2 separate regions of the Homo sapiens genome follow, and region 1 is linked to region 2. The links are contacts of gene promoters, found by promoter capture Hi-C in blood cells and fetal thymus (Javierre and others, 2016). All regions are on one chromosome and are shown on one strand. The core of a region is centred on a gene start or on the middle of the fragment in contact, and the rest is flanking DNA. Distances in the headings are between cores, read along the strand shown. Region 1 holds the start of SPATA32 (spermatogenesis associated 32). Region 2 has its middle 30 kb from the start of MAP3K14.

Evidence for each region. The method cuts DNA at HindIII sites, captures the fragments that hold promoters and counts their contacts. A CHiCAGO score of 5 or more calls a contact.
Region 1: a contact is called between the fragment with the promoter of SPATA32 here and a fragment that was not itself captured in region 2, in 10 of 17 cell types (neutrophils, activated CD4 T cells, monocytes and 7 more). The highest score is 9.5, in neutrophils.

The regions. Positions count from the first base shown.
Region 1 is chr17:45,260,101-45,263,702 of GRCh38, forward strand. It overlaps SPATA32 (spermatogenesis associated 32), which reads right to left and starts at 1,994. Exons shown (of 5, transcript NM_152343.3): 1 at 1,904-1,994. The coding sequence starts at 1,916. It overlaps MAP3K14 (mitogen-activated protein kinase kinase kinase 14), which reads right to left. Exons shown (of 16, transcript NM_003954.5): 16 at 3,019-3,602. The region is part of intron 2 of MAP3K14-AS1 (MAP3K14 antisense RNA 1); the gene reads left to right. RefSeq lists silencers at 1,638-1,757, 1,828-1,877 and enhancers at 1,826-2,431, 1,908-1,997, 2,432-3,035. The HindIII fragment of the contact is 9,151 bases long and covers 1-3,602 here.
Region 2 is chr17:45,345,516-45,349,156 of GRCh38, forward strand. No RefSeq gene overlaps it. Among named protein-coding and RNA genes, the nearest start is that of MAP3K14, 30 kb to the left of the region's middle. The HindIII fragment of the contact is 3,357 bases long and covers 89-3,445 here.

The sequences.
Region 1 (3,602 bases), core at 744-3,243, 85 kb before region 2:
TCAAAAAAAAAAAAAAAAGGAGATGAGGTCTCAGTATGTTGCCCAGGCTGGTCTCAAACTCCTGAGCTCAAGCGATCTTCCCATCTTGGCCTCCCAGAGTGTTGGGATTACAGGCGTGAGCCACCATGCCTGGCCTAATTTCTTACCTCAAATTCATATCTTGTATGTCCAGACTCTTAAGTGTGGCTGCCACGGTTCTGCCTGTCTGACCCCTGTCTCCCTTTCTAGTCTGTCATCTCTCCATACCCCACTCTCCTCGCCCTATTCATCCTTCATCCTTTCACCCAAATGAGAAACCTGGGTCATTTGTGACTCCTCCTCCCTCCGCAGCTACTGCCCTCCTACCCCTGATGCTGTCCTCATCTCCCAGTACCAGAGCCAGCACACACCCATGACTTCCTACCCTTTGGCACTTGGTGCTGAGTGCTTTGCACATTCAGTCTTCATACCTACCCTATGCCCAGTTGGCCACGGCTCTCCTCTCACAGATGAGGAAACGTGTATGAGGTCATGCAGCTATTAAGAGCAGCACACGACCCAAAGGCAGGTCTGGCTGGCTCCAAACTCTGGGATGCTACTCACTGCACTGTCTTAAATCTCTTTAGTCTTCCAGTGGGACCACTGCAACTATGTCCCCCTCCAACCTGGATTTTCAATGACCTCAGAGTGAGCCTGCTACATCTCACTTGTCTCCGGTTACCCCCAGACTCCATGTGGCCTCTTGGTCTGATCTCTACCTTCATTTTTCATCTCTTGGCATCCAGCTTCCTGTCCCTCACCCTAAGCCGAAGCTACCCCCAGAGTACCGCAGGCCTTTCTGCACCCAGTGCCTTTGCAAATGCTATTTCTTATACCTGGAAAGCCTTCTTCTGGCAAAGTCCTACTCATGCCTGAAAGCCCAATTCAAATAATCAGTGTAATCCTCTCCATGACAGACCTGGCTGTCTAATCTACGTTTTACCTTACAGGCGTGAGCCACTGCACCCGACCTCTGGTTTTTTTTTTTTTTTTTTTGACAGGGTCTTGCTCTGTGGCCCAGGCTGGAGTGGCAGCATCATAGCTCACTGCAACTCCTGGGCTCCAGTGAGCCTCCCAGCTCAGCCTCCCAAGTAGCTGGGACTACAGGCTCATGCCGCCACACCTGTCTAATTTTAAACATTTCCTGTAGAGGACAAAGTCTCGCTATGTTGCCTAGGCTGATCTTGAACTCCTGGCCTCATGTGATCCTCCCACCTCTGCCTCCCGAAGTGTTGGGATTGCAGGCGTTGAGCCATCATGCCCACCTAATTTTTGACCGTTTTTAATGCTGGCCCATGCCCTTCTGGGAGAGAGGATCCCCAAAAGAAAGCCACCATTTCAGTGGGGGATCTGACGCCCCTATGGGAAGGGGAGACACAGGGCACTGGGGGCAAACATCTTTGCTCATTGGTTCAGAGAAGAGTACAAGGCATCAACGAAGCGCTCCGTAAAAATGTGCTGAAGACTGCCGCTCCTCCCTGCAAAGCCTCAAGCATCAAGGAGGGACAACTGGATGTGATTTTTTGGATCTGCAGTTCAGGATAATTCATGAGTCGTTTCCTGTGCACAAGGCCATTGCTCCTTCTGTGGTCTCAGAACCCCTTCAAGAACCACTGACTCTGCAGTCCCTACTCCAAGGCGCGCATGCGTGTCCGTGAGAGCACATGGGTGTGCACCGCGCAGGGGCTGAGGCTGGGAGCCGTAGTCAGGGGCACCGGGTGGGCTTTGGCGGCGGGTCGACCTGCCTTTCAGGTGCCGGGGGTTTGGGAGCAGGGGAACGGGCCCTGGGCGGATTCCTGACCGCCCCCTTCGCGCCCCTCCCCCTCTCACTTTCGCTTTCCCCGCCTGCCCCAACCCTCGCCCCCGGGCGCTCGGCCGCTCCCACCTGTCACCCCCATGCAGACCGAGGCTCTGTCCTGGAGGCGGGGAGCGGGCTGGTGGATGCTGCCTCTCCGCCTCCAGTGTGCTCTTTGGCTGAGGGACTGGTGGGCGCTGGAAATATTAGAGGCGCCGGTGCCTGTGATGTCGCCGCCTCTGTGACGTCCCCGCCGCGACCCCACAGGCAGGGAGCCGCATTTAGGTTTCGGGCGGGCGGACGGGGGACGGCCCGAGTGAGGCGTCCTCCGAAGGCTGCGGGCCCGAAGCCAGAACTCCTTCCTCTCCGAAGACCTCGGGGGTGGGGCTCGCGCTTCCGCAGCGGGCCTAGAGCGAGAGGCAGGCGGCAGGTAAGCCTGGCTGTGCTGGACAGGACTTGCACCCGCTCTGCACGCCAGCGGCTCAGGGCTGCCGCCCTTTTCGTGGTCCCAGGGCCCTTCCAAGAACCGGCTAAACCAACCCAAGCCGCGCGCACACACACTTGTGCACACAGGGAGTGTGGAGCCAGATTCGATAAGGCACCCCGTGTGCCCCAGCTCCATGACCAAGGAACTCAGCACCCCGTGTGCCCCAGCTCCATGACCAAGGAACTCAGCACCCCGTGTGCCCCAGCTCCATGACCAAGGAACTCAGCCCACAAAGGCATCCCTGGCCCCATGCAGGGCTCAGGAGGCAGCGGAAAGGGTTAAGAGTCCAGGCCTCAAGGACAGGAGGGGAGGGTGGAGGGCCTGTGGTGTGCATCCGGCATCCCTGGATGGTCAGGGCCCAGAACCCATCCCTATTTCCCTTCTGGTGGTAGGGGGCTGCCTAACTTGGGCAGTGGCACAAAGCATGCAGGCTTTGTTGTCCTCCTCCTCCACCCCTCAGCCTGGCATATTTTGGCGAGGGACTTCCCTGATGCCACCGGGCAAGGTATCTTGCCTAACTGGTCTGAATGACTAGCCCAGCGTTGGGACTAGAAGCAGCCACTGGGAGGAGTGGTGGGAAAGCAGCCCCACTCAAGGGCTGAAACAGTCCTTGTCCAAAACAAGGGGGACTTGAAAAGATCTCAGCAAGAAGGCAAAGAGAGGCAGCTGTTAGGGTCGTGAGGTTCAGCAGGCCGGCAGGCAAGAGAGAGGACACCGATGGCCTGGAAACATTTGTCATCACCCCAAACTTTATTGCTTACAAAGAGTTCTCTACAACCCAGACTCTGCAGTACCAAGGCTGCAGTTCTTTATGTGCTGGGGGCCGGGGCTCTCTCCCCGGGAGCAGTCTGACTCAATGTGGACAGCTGGACAAAGGCTGTCTTGGCAAGATGTGGGAATGAGCTTCTCCCACGGAGTCTCGGCGTCCCCTGCCCCAGGAGGTTGAGGCTAGCAGACACCCCCTGACGATTCACAGCTGATTTAATGCTACGTGAGTCCTGAGTAGCTCCCCTGGGAGAAGAGGCTAAGCTGGGGCAATGGGGAAGGGGGTGCTATTCTTAGAGAAATCTGGAAGAGGTTTGAGGAGTCACATGCATGTGGACAGCTCAAGACTGTGTCCCTTCACCCCATCTCCTGGCTTGCTATGCTCCTACAGTGTCACTGCCCTGCCCTGCCCTGCCAGAGGGCAGCCATGAAAGTGCTTTGAGGTCATCAGAGTGCAAAGTGCCGTCGGCAGTACCCTCTGGCCAGGGGCAGGGCAGGGTGAGTGTCAGTGTGATGCTGAGCTGTGCTCTGGGGAAC
Region 2 (3,641 bases), core at 517-3,016:
CAAGGCCACACATCCGGGTAGCTTCCCTGGGGTCTAGCTTGCCCTGCCTTCTGAAGTTTATTTGTTTAACACAATCAAGTTATTACAAAGCTTAATTCCCAGAAGATATCACTGTACTTTTGAGCTTATGAAGCAACTCAAAGTAAATTTATGAGGTGTTGACAAGTAGAGGCCGTGGGGAACCAGCTTTTTGTTGCATAGAGAGTAATCTTCTATAGTCAGCTGGAGGCTTATCTTCAGTTAGATGTCGTCTAAGAGAAAACATTTCCTCTTTTGAGCAGATCAGCGTGGAGCCTCTGTAATAACTCTTTTGCACACTTAGTTAAAGGGAACCCTGTTCTGATTCCTGTGGTTAGCAATTAATTGATGAGGCTTTTATAGTTCTTGGAATAAAGAAGAAATGGAAATTCCAAAGAAGAGACAGACCTATAAAGCCCTTTTAATGAGATACATGAGTGGGTAGTGGTGGAGTAAGGGAGTGTCCTGGAACCAGCCTGAAGGGTGGGCCCAGGAAGCTGTTCCTACTCTTGGCTTTCAGAGTTTTGTGTTTTTTTCTTTTCTTTTTTTTTCCCCAAAGTCATGGCTGAAGGCCTTCCAGCTGTGGAGCTTAATCAGACCCCAGTGATTGCATAAATCACAAACATCTAGCACTAGCCCAATCAGGCCCAAACCCAACTCTTTTGAATGTTAGAACTTGCACATTTGAGGTCAAGTTCTGTTGGACACAGAGAGGAAGGGTATTCGGAAAAGGACAGACTTTTTCCAGAAACTCTTTGGCACCCAGCCTCCCTCCCCCCGAGTCAGATTTGGGAGCACATCCAAAGCAAGGCACCCACACAAAGACCAGGGACGCTTTCCAGATGAGATCCAGCCCCTTGTCTGCCCACAGGCATTGACTGAGTCTCCTTGTGCTCAGTGGGTTAGATACTTGAGCAGGAGCTGGGAGGTAAGTCAACTTGGCATCATCTCTGTCTCTAAGGGAGTTGAATAATCCTGTGTTCCATGTATTGTGCCTGGGATGGGAGTCAAGAGGTGAGAGAGGGCTGCCCCTCCTTTGGAGCAGTTTCTACAGGAGAGACAGGCCAGATGCCTGGCCTGACTGCCCTGCTGCCCCACCGAGATAGACCCCGGCTCTCGGTTCCACTCACGGTGAGTATTAAGCACCCCCTACGCTACACCATTGTATCCCTTCCTTACTCCACTGGCTGCCAATGCGCTGTCTTGTTGACCCAGCCTCCAAATAATAATTTTTCTTGATTATGGAGTTTTGGCACCTCCTGAAATTTTGCTCTCGAGGCAAGCGCCTAAATCAGCTAATCCTAATGGAGGCCCCGGCAAACATCTGACTGATGGTGACACATACAAAAGCAGCTTCAAGCCACAGTGCGTTAGTGCTTAGAAAAAAAGCCCCATGAGATTCCAAAGAGACATTTGCATAATTCTGGGTCAGTGCTTCCCAAAGTATATGCTGTGAAACATCAATCCTATGAGGTGCTTATCCAAAAGATAAGAGATTTTTGTGGACAAATAATTTTGGGAAATAATGCATACTCTAACTTCTGCCTTAGATATTCATTATGGACACGAACACGCTAAAAGCTCAGACTCCTGGGTGAAGAAACATCACTTTTCTAGCCCATCCTCTTTGGCTGCTTAGCTGGGTCAGCTTGGGCAACTCTATCAATGTTTCTTAAAGGGAAATGAGAGGGTGCTCATCTGAGAATCTCTTAAGGGTGCTTGTTAGAGAGTACTGGCCGGTCATGGTGGCTCACGCCTATAATCCCAGCACTTTGGGAGGCTGAGGTGGGTGGATCATCTGAGGTCAGGAGTTTGAGACCAGCCCAGCCAACACAGCAAAACCCCATCTCTATTAAAAATACAAAAATTAGCTGGGCATGGTGATACTCAGGAGGCTGAGGCAGGAGAATCGCTTGAACCTGGGAGGCGGAGATTGCGGTGAGCCAAGATTGTGCCATTGCACTCTAGCCTGGACGACAGAGTGAGGCTCCGTCTCAAAAAAAAAAAAAAAAAAAAAAAGGAAATAGAGAGTACCCAGCCCTGCTGCAGACTTTGCAAATCAGAGTCTCCGGAGCTCAGGAACCAGGAATTTGCTTTGAACAGTGCCCAGTTGATGGTGATGTATGTTCCACTTGAGAATACCAGATAAACTTTGCAGGGCCTTGGCTTTTCCTGAGTGTTGTAAATATCAAGATATAAGTTTGACCAACAGTTTAGTCAAAAAGAAACTTAGGCACTTCCCAACTCATTCTTTGAGGCCTGATACCAAAACCAGGCAAAGATAACACAAAAAAGAGAAAATTACAGACCAATACATATTATGAATATAGATGCATTCTCTGGTACAGAATGAGGCTTTGTCAAATTAAAAATAAGAAAAATTTATACTGGAAGTCCTAGGCAGAGAGATCAGGCAAGAGAAACAAAGGGCGTCCAAATTGGAAAAGAGAAAGTCAAACTATCCCTGTTTTCTGGTGATATGATCGTATACCTAGAAAACCCTAAAGACTCATCGAAAAGGCTCTTAGATCTGATAAATGAATTCAGTAAAGTCTCAGGTTACAGAATCAATGTGCACAAATTAGTAGCACTGCTATACACTAACAACGACCAAGCTGAGAATCAAATCAAGAAATCAATCCCTTTTTCAACAGCTGCAATAAATAAATAAATAAATAAAATACAATACCTAGGAACAGACTTAACCAAGGAGGTGAAAGATCTCTACAAGGAAAACTACAGAACATTGCTGAAAGAAATCACAGATGACACAAACAAATGGAAACACATCTTATGCTCATGGATGGGAAGAATCAGTATTGTGAAAATGTCCATACTACCCAAAGCAATCTACAGATTCAATGTAATTCCCATCAAAACATCATCATCATTTTTCACAGAACTAGAAAAAACAATCCTAAAATTCATATGGAACCAAAAAAGAGCCCAAATAGCTAAAGCAATGCTAAGCAAAAACAATCTGGAAGCATCACATTACTGGACTTCAAATTATACTACAAGGTTATAGTTACCAAAACAGCATAGTACTGGTATAAAAATAGGCACTTAGACCAATGGAACAGATAGAGAACCCAGGCATAAAACTAAATACAGCCAACTGATCTTCAACAAAGCATACAAAAACATAAACTGGGGAAAGGACACCCTATTCAATAAATAGTGCTGGGAAAACTGGCAAGCCACATGTAGAATAATGAAACTGGATCCTCATCTCTCACCTTATAGAAAAATCAACTCAAGATGGATCAAAGACTTAAATCTGAGACCTAAAACTATAAAAATTTTAGAAGATAACATTGGAAAAACTCTGCTAGACGTTGGCCTAGGCAAAGAATTCGTGACTAAGACTCCAAAAGCAAATGCAACAAAAACAAAAATAAATAAATGGAACCTAATTAAACTAAAAAGCTTCTACACAGCAAAGGAAATAATCAGCAGAGTGAACAGACAACCCACAGAATGGGGGAAATATTTGCAAACTGTGCATCCAACAAAGGACTAATATCCAGAATCAACAAGGAACTCAAATCAGCAAGAAAAAAAATAAAATAATTCCATCAAAAATTGGGCAATGGACATGAATCGACATTTCTCAAAAGAAG